Linked DNA regions of Homo sapiens: region 1 is linked to region 2. The links are contacts of gene promoters, found by promoter capture Hi-C in blood cells and fetal thymus (Javierre and others, 2016). All regions are on one chromosome and are shown on one strand. Each heading gives the region's core, a stretch centred on a gene start or on the middle of the fragment in contact. The rest is flanking DNA. Distances are from core to core; before and after follow the strand shown. Region 1 holds the start of ZC3H7B (zinc finger CCCH-type containing 7B). Region 2 holds the start of CHADL (chondroadherin like).

The links. The method cuts DNA at HindIII sites, captures the fragments that hold promoters and counts their contacts. A CHiCAGO score of 5 or more calls a contact.
Region 1: the fragment with the promoter of ZC3H7B here is called in contact with the fragment with the promoter of CHADL in region 2 in 3 of 17 cell types (erythroblasts, M0 macrophages and naive CD8 T cells); the score reaches 8.1 in erythroblasts.

What each region holds. Positions count from the first base shown.
Region 1 is chr22:41,297,438-41,303,743 of GRCh38, reverse strand. ZC3H7B (zinc finger CCCH-type containing 7B) reads right to left here and starts at 2,219. Exons shown (of 23, transcript NM_017590.6): 1 at 1,972-2,219. It also overlaps a transcript of RANGAP1 not described here. RefSeq lists silencers at 1,843-1,912, 2,193-2,532 and an enhancer at 1,610-2,111. The HindIII fragment of the contact is 7,155 bases long and covers 339-6,306 here.
Region 2 is chr22:41,239,238-41,246,130 of GRCh38, reverse strand. It overlaps CHADL (chondroadherin like), which reads left to right and starts at 5,200. Exons shown (of 6, transcript NM_138481.2): 1 at 5,200-5,257; 2 at 6,511-6,688. The coding sequence starts at 5,250. RANGAP1 (Ran GTPase activating protein 1) reads left to right here. Exons shown (of 16, transcript NM_002883.4): 16 at 1-1,352. RefSeq lists enhancers at 4,596-5,096, 5,097-5,597. The HindIII fragment of the contact is 52,914 bases long and covers 1-6,893 here.

The DNA.
Region 1 (6,306 bases), core at 970-3,469, 61 kb before region 2:
GAAAAGTAACTTGCTAAGGTGGCCCAGGACTCTGGGAAAGGGTGACGATTTGGAGCCAGAAAACTGGGTGGGAATCCTACCTCTGCTGTCTGACTTTCCAGCAAGACACACAATTCGGCCTAAGGTTTCTTATCTAGAAAATGTCTACCTGACACAGTTGCTATGGAGGACAGATGAGCCAACACATGTGAAAGCCCTTTTGTTATAAACTAAAAAGTGATATTTGAGGGATTATTATTTTCAGATTGAGGGATTATTTTCAGATTCTCTATCCATGTCTCAACCGACATCTCAGCTTTCCTACTAAGACTCGAGAGATCAGCACATCCCACCAAGCTTCTAAGCCCCACAATAATCTACCAAAACCCCCATTCCTGTCTAACCTATACAAAAGCCAGCAGCTAAGAACACACAGCATCTACAGAACAGAAACTTTATCCCAGCTCAGGGACAACAAAGTCTCTCTCCCATCCTCAGATCTCATCCCTCCTGGACAGGTTCTTTCTTCCCACCTTAAGTCTCCCCACTTCTCAAACATGCTCCATCCAACTGTTGACCAGGTGTCATTTCCACCTTGCAGTCCAACTTCTGTGGGAGGTGGACACGGGGAAAGAAGACCACCACGGAGGGGATGGCTGTATGTGTGTAGAGGAAGTATTGGTAGTAGAACTAAAGATTCTGCCAGCATTTTGTGTCCAACACAGTTGCTACATGTACTATAATTATCTCATTTGTGTGAAAATTCAAGGATCTGCATTCTGCTATTTTCATCAGGCTGAACTGCAGATGCTGAGGAATATGGCAAGAAGTTGGGGTTCAAAGTCTGATGCCAAAGCTAGCAACCCGAGAAATAAAACCGCTGATCACCAGCTCCCCACTCAGGCCCAGCCCCCTTTTAGAGCCCCCAGACTCCCCACGCAGGGCCCTAGCCCCCTAGTCTTCCCCGTCAATGCCCTGTTGGCAATACAGCCATCAGGTTCTATCAGAGTGAGCTGTTTTTATATGATTATTTTCCCCCCTGGGAAGACGGCTTTGTCTGTGAAAGTCCCCCCAACCAGGCGCCTTATAAACGCCTAAAACAGACAGAGTTGAGGAGAAAGGAGGGGAAAGGAGGAGGGAGCAAACCCGGAGGGGGGCCCTGAGGTTCGCAGCGGGCAGGATGGGGGTATGAGGCCGGAGTCGGCGGCTCCCAGGCCCCCAGCCCCGTCAGGGCGCCCCCGTCCCCAGGCGCCAGAGCCGGGGTCCGCAGCCCCCTAGCACTCCCTGGACGGCCGCGGGCCTCCCACAGGCCTCGAAGTCCAGAGACTGATCCTGCGACCGGAAACGCCCCCCTGCCCAGCAGGCCCAGACCGCGCCCCCCTTTCCTGCCGCCCCCTTCCCGCGGGCCCGGCTGCAGGCCCCGGATCCCCGGGCTCGCGTGGCCGCCGCAGCCGAAAGGGGCGGCCCGTCGGGCGGCCCCGCTCCCCGGCCCTCGCCGCGGCCCCTCCAACTCCGGGTGCTGCGGGGCCAAGGACAACACAAAAGGAAGGGGGGCCCTGCCAGCGACGCCCCTGCCAGCCCCCGAGACCCCCTGCGCGGGGTCGGCAAAGCATCTGGACACCCCAGAAGCTCCGGACGCCGAAGAGAGAGGCCCCACGAAAATTTCAAGACACCTCCTGGGGGCTGCAGGGGCGGCCAAGTCTCCCCAGCGCCAGGTGCCCCCGGCCACACGGTAACTTTTAAACTTTGGGGCAGGGCACGGGGACCGGGATCCCCAAAAAGGAGCAAATGGGGTTTTAGAGACGATTTATTTTTTGCAAAATCCCACTTTCCAGGTGGCCCGGCGCGCGGCCCCGGCCTGGAAAGGGCTCTCTTCGCCTCTTCCCCAGCCCTGCCCGGCCCGGGCGTCCCCGAACCCTCGCGCGCGGGCGGCTCCGGACGCAGTGTCCCCGGCCTCTGCCCCGCGGGGCTCGGGCCGCGCCAAGCACTCACCTCCGCCGGGCTGCGCTCCCCGCGGGCCTGCGCCGAGCCCGATAAATGGTATGCTATGACTAGAGGTATGATTACGTTATTATTATTAGTAATAATAAGAGTAAATGCTATTTAATTACGGGCGGCCGCATCCTGCTCCCGGCGCCGCCGCCCCGGCAGCTCCGTCCATGTGGCTCTGGAGCGCTTTACTTTCATTTCCAGCCCCTCGGCTGGCCGCTCGCGGCAGCACCCGCTGGAGGCACTGTCTCCCTGCAGCTCTTCCTCCTCGGGTCCTAGAGAGCTCGGCTCCCGTCGCCTCGCCGCGCCCGGGGTGGGCGGCGCGGGCTGCGCACCTGGGGAGAAGGGCGGGGGGCGTGGGGGCGAGTCGGGGAAGCCCCATTCCCCGTCGAAAGCTCATGCCTGGAATTCACCTTTATTTTCTTTAAAAGTGTCCTGCCTTTTAGGGGGGTTTCTTTTGGCAGTTCTGCATTTCTGGGCTGATGCTGCTCAAACCCAGCGCCTCCGCCCTTCCCCATCTGTGTCAAAAGTCCCCCCGCCCCCCTTCTCCGGCTTCCAGGTGCTTTCATGGAAGGCTGCCCAAAACCCTGGTTGCGTTGTGCCCTTCTCATAGATGGGAACCGGAGACACATAGAAGAATCAGGACCTCACTTGGCTGGAGTTTTATGTATAGGATGTTAAAAAAAATATTGAATGACACTTGTTAAAGACTACAAGGCCGACTTTATTGGCATCATGATGGGTGTAGGGACCACTGCAGTGGGTTTTGCGGTCAGGGAGAGTATTTGGGCTCAATTCAGAAATCAGCATGGGCAACTGGGAATTTATGAGGAAGGAGAAAGGATCCACTGATTGAGCGCCAGTGCATAGGAAACTGCATCAGAGATGAGAGGATTCTCGCTTAAACCCATCTAACAAGATTCTTGCTGAAGGCAGGGCAAGGTGATCAGACATCACCTGGGGAATGGTGGAAAATGAGGAACCTGATTAGATATTGACAATCAGGGCTGGGTGCAGTGGCTCACGCCTGTAATCTCAGCACTTTGGGAGGCCAAGACGGGTGGATCACCTGAGGTCAGGAGTTCAAGACCAGACTAGCCAACGTGGTGAAACCCCATCTCTACAAAAATACAAAAATTAGCCAGGCGTGGTGGTGGGTGCCTGTAATCCCAGCTACTCAGGAGGCTGAGGCAGGAGAATCACTTGAACCCCAGAGGTGGAGGTTGCAGTGAGCCAAGATCATGCCATTGCACTCCAGCCTGGGCAACAAGAGCAAAACTGTCTCCAGAAATATATGTGTGTGTGTGTGTGTGTGTGTGTGTGTGTGTGTGTGTGTGTGTGTGTGTGAGTTCCCAATACCCCCTAGGCAATTTACAATGAAACACCCTTGACAACTTATCACATTTACCACCATGGTTATTATCACTCTCATTTCATCGATGAGGATGCTGAGGCCAGTTGGATTGCTGCATTTTGCCTCAAGTGAACTAGATGGCAAATGGTCTGGTGATTCCACCACCCCAGGTTGCTGGTGAAATAATGAACACATATTCTTGAAGAGGACTGTCCATCATTCAAGGGGGATTCAGCAGGACACCAGCCTCTTATCTCTTCAAGTTGGTACCAACTTGTTCAATTGTTTGGGCTGCCTAAGATGGTAAAGGGGTCTTTATTACAAGACCCCAACCAGAGGTGAGGATGCTTTGGAGAAAAGGGCCAGGAGGAGGCCGGGCGCGGTAGCTCACGCCTATAATCCCAGCACTTTGGGAGGTTGAGGCGGGCGGATCATGAGGTCAGGAGATCGAGACCATCCTGGCTAACACGGTGAAACCCCATCTCTACTAAAAATACAAAAAATAAGCTGGGCGTGGTGTCGGGAGCCTGTAGTCCCAGCTACACAGGAGGCTGAGACAGGAGAATGGCGTGAATCCGGGAGGCGTAGCTTGCAGTGAGCCGGGATCATGCCACTGCACTCCAGCCTGGGCGACAGAGTGAGACTCTGTCTCAAAAAAAGAAAGAAAAAGAAAAGGGCCAGGAGGCTGGCATCGGTAGGCTTTCTGGGAAGCCCCATGTTGTCAGTCCCATGTTGTCACAGTGTGCTCTATGTCCCCATGTTAAAGCTGAAATAGCAGTAACAGCCACCGCTTCTTTACTATGAGCCAAACACTTTGCATATGTTGATTCTTTTACCCTCTCAAAAACCCTGTAGCTCGGCACGGTGGCTCACATCTGAAATCCTAGCACTTTGGGACGCCAAGGTAGGTGGATCACCTAAGGTTAGGAGTTCGAGACCAGCACGGCTAACGTAGTGAAACCCTGTCTCTACAAAAAAATACAAAAATTAGGCCGGGCGCGGTGGCTCAGGCCTGTAATCCTAGCACTTTGGGAGGCCGAGGCGGGTGGATCACAAGGTCAGGAGATCGAGACCATCCCAGCTAACACGGTGAAACCCCATCTCTACTAAAAATACAAAAAATTAGCCAGGCATGGTGGCGGGCGCCTGTAGTCCCAGCTACTCGGGAGGCTGAGGCAGGAGAATGGCTTGAACCTGGGAAGTAGAGGTTACAGTGAGCCGAGATCGTGCCACTGCATTCCAGCCTGGGCGACAGAGCGAGACTCCATCTCAAAAAAAAAAAAATTCATATGTTGAATCTCTAATCCCTGATTTGATGGTATTAGGAGGTGGGGCCTTTGGGAGATAATTAGGTCATGAAAATGAAGCCCTGATGAATGGAATTAGTGCTCTTATAAGAGACACTGGGGAGATTATCTCTCTCTGCCAGGTGAGGATACAGCAAGAAAGCAGCCATCTATAAACCAGGAAGGCGGCCCTCACCAACAACCTGACCATGCTGGGACCCTGGTCGTGGACTTCCAGCCCCCAGATCAGTGAGAAATAAATTTCTACTGCTTAAGCCATCCAGTCCATGGTATCTGTCATAGCAGCCTGAGGTGACTAAGATGGGGGTAATGTGAGTACTGTACTCGATGGGGTACACCCAAAATCCCAACACTAGGAGGCCGAGGTGGGCAGATCGCTTGAGCCCAGGAGTTTGAGACCAGCCTGGGCAACATGACAAAACCCTAACTCTGCAAAAAATACAAAAAATTGGCCGGGCGTGGTGGCTAATGCCCGTAATCCCAGCACTTTGGGAGGCCGAGGCCGGGCGTGGTGGCTCACCCCTGTAATCCCAGAATTTTGGGAGGCCAAGGTGGGCGGATCACCTGAGGTCAGGAGCTTGAGACCAGCCTGACCAACATGTTGAAACCCCATCTCTACGAAAAATACAAAAATGAGCCAGGTGTGGTGGCACGCACCTGTAATCCCAGCTCCTCAGGAGGCTAAGGCAGGAGAATCGCTTGAACCTGGGAGGTGGAGGTTGCAGTGAGCCGAGATCGCGCCATTGCACTCCAGCCTGGGCAACAGAGTGAGACTCAGTCTCAAAACAACAACAACAACAAATTAGCCAGGTGTGGCCAGGCGCTGTGGCTCACGCCTGTAATCCCAGCACTTTGGGAGGCCAAGGCGGGTGGGTCACGAGGTCAGGAGTTCAAGACCAGCCTAGCCAATATGGTGAAACCCTGTCTCTACTAAAAATACAAAAATTAGCTGGGCGTGGCCAGGCACGGTGGCTCATGCCTGTAATCCCAGCACTTTGGGAGGCAGAGGCGGGTGGATCACCTGAGGTAGGGAGTTCGAGACCAGCCTGGCCAACATGGGGAAACCTTGTCTCTACTAAAAATACAAATATCAGCCAGGCGTGGTCACGGGCGCCTGTGATCCCAGCTACTTGAGGCTGAGTAACAAGAAACGCTTGAACCCAGGAGGCGGACGTTGTAGTGAGCCGAGATCGTTCCACTGCACTCCTGCCTGGGTGACAAGAGCGAGACTCCATCTCAAAAAAAGAAAAAAAAAAATTAGCTGGGCGTGGTGGTGTGCACCTGTAGTCCCAGCTGCTCTGGAGGCTGAACCAGGAGGATGGCTTGAACCTGGGAGGCAGAGGTTGGAGTGAGCCAAGATCACACAACTGCACTCCAGCTTGGGCGATAGAGCAAGACTCGGTCTCAAAAAAAAAAAAAAAAAAAAAAGCCAGGTGTGGTGATGTGTGTGTAGTCCCCAGCTATTCAGGAGGGTGAGCCCAGAATCCTCAAAGCGGAGGATCCTTGAGCCAAGAAGGTGGAGGCAGCAGTGAGCCATGGCTTCATCACTGCACTCCAGCCTGGGTGACAGAGCAAGAGGTTGTCTTGAAAAAAAAAAAAAAAGTACTGTACCCAACTGAAAGGGTCTGTGATGGCTCATGATGTGTCCACTTGCCTGGGCCACAGGGTGCCCAGATA
Region 2 (6,893 bases), core at 3,951-6,450:
CACCAAGCCCTGGTCCTGCGGCAGCTGTCACCCCTACCATCCATACCACTGTGCTGACCGCTCAGCCTGAAGAGCAGAGAATGCCATGGGTGGGACTGTGGGGGTCGGATCGTGGGGTTGTTGGCAGAGGGCAACCCTGGGCCCCACACCGTGTGGACAGGCAGACACCAGATTGTCCAGGAGCAGGAGCTGCTGGGACTGCGCTGGCCCCGGACCTAGTGGGCCTTCTCCTGGCTGCTGAGATGTCGTCTGTGACTGGCCTGGCTGGAGGGGGAGTGTTGACAACCCAAAGCTGTTCTCCAGTCTGGGGAGGGAGAGGCAGGGTCCCCAATGTCCGAGCTGCATCTGGACGCTGCTCTTAAAGGACCTCCTGGGGCAGGGGAGCGGTAGGGTCTGGACTGGGCAGATGCTGTATGACCTCCCTGAGCACCCGTGACTGCCCCATGCTTTCCCCTTTGTGCTCTGTGTGTGTCTGGGCTGTGCCCGGGGGCTTCACAAATAAAGTCGTGTGGCAGCTTCAGAGACTCAGAAACTCTCACTGAAAGCGGGATAGTCTCGGGGGCCGTTGTACGTGGAGTCCCACCTCGGCAGAGCATGCGGCCCCGCAGCAGTCTGTGGGGCAGTCAGCCCTGCAGAAGGGCCCGGCCTCGGCCTCAGGCCACTACCTGGGAAGTGGCAGTCCTGAGTGGGGGCCCATTTTCCTGCCTGGCCACACCTCACCCAGCACCCTGCCTTTGGGCTGCAGCTCGCTTGGCTTCTGCGTTGCTCCTTCACTATGGAAGCCACCTCCCTTGGGATCCTTTGCTCCACTGCCACATATGTGAGGACAGCCCAGCCAACCTTCCTTACCTCCTACCCTACACCATGTATGTGCTTTGGGAGCCCATGTCCCCCACAAACGGCCTCCAAGAAGTCCCTCCAAGGTTTCTTAGAGGGCAATATTTTCTCATTGGCAGTCGGCCACGTAGGTGACCAGGTGGCAGAGGATACTGCTGGCCCTGTCCCCTGTCTTCTGTGTGAGTTGATACGGTAGGGGGTGGGTGTGGGGCTGGCATTAAGTTCTGATGCCAGCTACAACGTGGATGAACTTTGAAAACATGTTAAATGAAATAAGCCAGACACAAAAGGACAAATATGATTCCATTTAGATGAGGCATCTAGAATAAGCAAATTCAGAGACAAGAAGGTAGAGGTTGCCAGGGCTAGGGGAAGGGTGGAATAGGGAGTGAGGCTGCAAACAGATTCTCTGGGATGATGAAGATGTTCTGGAAATGGAGAGTGGTGATGGTTGCATAACATTGTGAATGTACTTAATGCACTGAATTGTACACATAAAAATGGTTAAAATGATAGATTTCATGTATTAATATATTTTACCTCAGTTAATGTTTTAAAAATTAAGCAAAACTATAGAGCTTCACCCGGGTGTGGTGGCTCACGCCTGTAGTAATCCTAGCACTTTGGGAGGACGAGGCGGGCAGATCACTTGAGCCCAGGAATTCAAGACTGGCCTGGCCAACATGGCAAAACCCTGTCTCTACTAAAAATACAAAAATGAGCTGGGTGTGGTGATGCATGCCTGTAGTCTCAGCTACTTGGGAACCTGAGGTGGGAGGATCACCTGAGCCCAAGAAGTGGATGCTGCAGCAAGCCGTGATCGTGCCACTGCACTCCAGCATGACTGACAGCGAGACCCTGTCTCAAAAAAGAGAGAGAGAGCTTGTAGGAGATAGTGTAAGTGAGTATCTTCAAGGCCTTAGGAGTGAGGAAAAGATGAATAAATTAAGCTGTATTTAACCTCCTTTGCCATTATCGTGGGATGTTCACACAATGGAAATGATGTAGCAGTGAGAACAGGTTTCTGTTTATCAAAATACTCATTAAGGAGTACAAAGGCAACTTACAGACAGGGAGAAAATAATTGCCTAAACTCTCTCTGTATATATATATGGGTGGGGGGGATAACTTTAATTTTTTTCAAACAGGGTCTCATGTTGCCCAGCTTCTATCTCGGCTCACTGCAGCCTCTACCCCCCGGGCTCAGGTGATCCTCCCAGAGAAACATAATCACAGTGTGACACTCTTATGCCCTCACTAGAATGGCTAAAATACAAAATACAGTACCAAGTTTGGTGAGGATTTGGGGCAACTGGAGTGGCTGGCAGATGTGTAAATTGGTACAACCTTTTTTTTTTTTTTTTTTTTTTTTGAGACAGGGTCTTGCCATGTCACCCAGGCTGGGGTGCAGTGGTGTGATCACAGCTCACTGCAGCCTCGACCTCCTGGGCTCACTTAGTCTTCGTGCCTCAGCCTCCCAAGTAGCTGGGACCATGTCACAAGCCACCACGTTCAGCTTTTTTTTGTAAAGACAGGGTCTCATTGTGTTGTCCAGGCTGGTCTTGAATTATTGGGCTCAAGTGATCCTCCCGCCTCAGCTCACTTAACAGGCATGAACCACCATGCCCGGCTACAGTGCTCTTTCTAATAAACCCATGCTGGAAACAACCCAAATGTCTATCACTAGAGGAATGGGTAAGCTACTTGTGGTACGGTGTGGTACCGAGAAGGTAGGAATGGTCTGCCCAAGAAGAAATATTTTAGCATTGACATTGTTTAGACTTGTCAGCACATGATAATAAAAAGCAGAGACCAACTTTAAGTCAGTTCCATTGTGTCTCACTTCTCCACTGACAGCACACCCGCTTACTGCCTGCATTGTGGGCAGACTGCCTCCCGCCCCTGCCCCATGCCACTGTTGTCATATATTTATAGAATGGAAGGCTGGAATGCTGAATTTAAAAAAAAAATTAAAATAGATGAAGCCGGGTGCGGGCTCACACCTGTAAATCCTAGGACTTTGGGAGGTTGAGGCGGGCGGATCACTTGAGGTCAGGAGTTTGTGACCTGCCTGGCCAATATGGTGAGACCCGTCTCTACTAAAAATACAAAAATTAGCTGGGTGTGGTGGCGGGTGCCTGTAATCCCAGCTACTCGGGAAGCTGAAGCAGAATTCCTTGAACCTGGGAGGCGGAGGTTGCAGTGAGCTGAGATCACGCCACTGTACTCTAGCCTGGGCAACGAGAGCTAGACTCCGTCTCAAAAAAAAAATAAAAAGATGATTCTCACTAACATAATATTGAGTGGAAAACGCCAGACACAGCCAGGTGCAGTGGCTCATGCCTGTAATCCTAACGCTTTGGGAGGCCGAGGTGGGAGGATCACTTGTGCCCCGGAGTTCAAGACCAGCCTGGACAACATAGCAAGACCCCAACTCTACAACAAATTTTAAAACCAGCTGGAGGTGGCGGTGCATATCTGGAGGTCCCAGCTGCTTGGGAGGCTGGTATGTCAAGGCCGCAGTGAGCCATGATCACACTTCACTCACACCTGGGCAACAGTGAGACCCTGTCTCAAAAAAAGGACGAAAGAGCACACTGAAGTTCCATTGATTGGAATTTGCCAAGCAAAAAAAGCACAAAGCAGATGGCTGTGTGGCATGGCACTATTTCTTTTTTTAAAATGTTACTGCAGGGCTGGGCGTGGTGACTCATGCCTGTAATCCCAGCACTTTGGGAGATCAAGGCGGGCAGATCACTTGAGGTCAGGAGTTCGGGACCGGCCTGGCCAACATGGCGAAACCCCGTCTCTACTAAAAATGCAAAAATTAACCAGATGTGGTGGTACACATCTGTCATCCCAGCTACTTGGGAAGCTGAGGCAGGAGAATCGCATGAACCAGGGAGGTGGAGGTTGCAGTGAGCTCCAGCCTGGGCGATAAAGTGAGACTCTGTCTCAAAAAACAAAAAACTCCTGCAGTCTAGGAAAAGTACACACAGATGTTCATTGTTTAACATATATAAATATATATAAACATATACATTTATATTTTTATTATATATAAATATATACACACATAAGTGTATACACACACACATACATATATATATATATATATATATATATATATATATATATATATATATATATGTATATATTTTTTTTCTTTTTTGAGACAGTTTCACTCTGTTGCCCAGGCTAGAGTGCAGTGGCGCCATCTCGGCTCTCGCGTTCATGCCATTTGCCTGCCTCAGCCTCCCAAGTAGCTGGGACTACAGGCGCCTGCCACCACACCCGGCTAATTTTTTGTACTTTTAGTAGAGATAGGGTTTCACTGTGTTAGCCAGGATGGTCTTGATCTCGACCTCGTGATCCACCCGCCTCCGCCTCCCAAAGTGCTGGGATTACAGGCGTGAGCCACCGCGCCCGGCCTTTTTTTTTTCTCTTGAGACAGAGTCTGTGTTGCCCAGGCTGGTCTCAAACTCCTGGGCTCAAGTGATCCTCCCACCTCAGCCTCCCAAAGTGCTGGGATTACAGGCATGAGCCACTGTGCCTGACCCCTGTTTCCAATTAAAGGAACAAACAGTAGAAGATGCAATTCCATCAGAAGCAGGAATCTGAAAAATCAAGATACATGAACATTGGCCATGGTCTGGATGTATTATTTAAAAAACAAACACGAGCTTGGGAAGATGCGTATTTGGATATTCTTTGCAATATTGTTTGTAAATAGCAAAAAATTGGAGGTAGCCAATGTCCAAGATGAATGGCTAAGTCAATGTGATACATTTACACAATGGAATACTATATACCACAGAATAATGAGATTCGGAAGAGTCAATTTGGATAACTCCCAGTAATCTGAGGTTAAGTGAAAAAAATGAGTGTCTAGAATCCTGTGTGTCCAGTATTAAACTATTTATGTCAATGTGTAAGCACAAACGGAAGGAAAGGGTCACCTGTTCTGAAGCACCCACTGTGTGCCAGGTGCGGGCCTGAACCCCCACTGTGACCTCAGAGCTACTTATTAATGGGATGTGTTTTTCAGAGACTAGGAAGCAGCCTCTGGGAGGGCAGCCCACATGGCAGGAGGGAGCCCAGGACTGCTGACTCCCGGGCCAGCTGCTGGTGCCCCCTCCCTGTCGGGCTGGCCCAAGGATTCAGGCCGGGGCCTCAGTCCTCGGCTGGGGCAGGCAGGAGGCCCTGTAACTCCAGCCGCTGCTCCCGCCCGCCGCCCGCCCCTTCTTCACCTCAGCCTGGGGAAGCCTGGCTTGCCTGGTCTGCCGACAATGCCTCCCATTCAGCCCTGTCCCAGCTGCCAGGCCTGCGGGCCGTGGAGGGGGGCTCCTGCCAGGCGGGGACAGCCTGTCCCTGCGCTGCGCCTCCAGGCTGGACCAGCAGTTCCAGGCGGCATGGAGGGGTGAGTCTTTGGGCCCGATGGTGCAAGGGGGGATTCAGAGCAGCTCAGTGGCCTCAGGTAAGTCTCTGCCCCCTCTGGGCCTCTCAGAGGCTGGCGGGCAGGGGCTCTGGGGACTTCCTGGGGTTCTCCAGGAAGGGGGTCTCCCAAGGTGGGCTCTGAGACACGTGGCAATGTGGCCACTGCCAGGAACTGGTCCTCTGGGGCTTGTCTGAGAGCCCAGCAGTGGTCCCTGCATTATGAATGCTTGTCGCTTCAGCGATCTGTCCCCATGGGTCCCCTCCCTGGCCTGCCCTGAGGCACAGCCTTCACCACAGGCTCTGGAGAAGCCACCAACTCCAACGCAGGGGCTGGAGCCTGGGACCCAAAGGAGACTCCAAAACAGACGATAGTCCAGTGAGCAGCGAGGGGGAGGCTCCTGGGGGCCGGGGAACAGCCCAGCGATGGGGGAGAGGCCATGCCTGACACAGGCTGAGAACAGAGGGGCCAGCTGGGCAGGGGAGGTGATCTATCATCCTAGCGCTTTGGGAGGCCAAGGTGGGACAATCACTTGAGGCCAGGAGTTCAAGACCAGCCCGGGCAACATAGCGAGACCCTGTCTCTACCAGAAGTAATTAAAAAATTAGCCAGGCGTGGTGGTGTGTGCCTGTAGTCCCAGCTACTCAAGAGGCTGAGGTGAGAGGATCACTTTAGCCCAGGAGGTGAAGGCTGCAGTAAGCCATAGTCATTCCACTGCACTCCAGACTCCAGCCTGGGCAACAGAGCAAGGCTTGTCTCTATTTAAACAAACAAACAAAAAAAGACTCAAGGACCCGGACTGGATGCCTCCCTCCTTTCTGGGGGGTACCATTATGCTCCTGCCACCTGGGAGCTGGCATCATATCAGTCTGAGGACAGGCTGCTTCCGAGCCTACCCTGGACCAGAGCCTCACCACAGCCTGAGAACATGCTCTGAACTGGAGTCATTCTCACAGTCAGCAAGTCCTCACTGAGCCATTGGGCAGAGGCAAAGGGACTAACCAGGTCACTTTTCTGAGCCTCGGTTTCCTCCCATGTAAAACAGGACTAATCATAGGACCTCCACTGCGTGGGGGGTGGGGGGCAGGGAGGCTCAGGGTGATTGGCACTTTCCTGGGCCCAAAGGAGGAGGCTCTGAGGGGTTTTTGGGGCAGGAGCTGCACCATGGCTGGGACTAAGTGAGGGACAGCATGTGGCCTCGGCCCTTGTGCACAACAGACTCTCCCTCCCCGTCCCAGGCCCCGGAGCTCCACCCATGTCCCCTTGGTGCTGCCGCTTCTTGTACTTCTGCTGCTGGCCCCGGCTAGGCAGGCCGCCGCCCAGCGCTGCCCACAGGCCTGCATCTGTGACAACTCCAGGCGACACGTTGCCTGCCGGTACCAGAACCTCACTGAGGTGCCAGACGCCATCCCTGAGGTCAGCAGGGCAGGAGCACAGGCACAGAGTGGCAGTGGGGCAAGGTGGGGACCCAGAGGGAGGAGCCTGGGCTGGGCACCAGTTGATCTGCCACCGCCTGCCCGGGAGACCTTGGCAAATTACTTCTCTTTGAGCCTCAGTTTACACTTCTGTAAAATGGGAATAATAAAAACCAGTAACAGGGAGATGATCTATTTAAAATCCT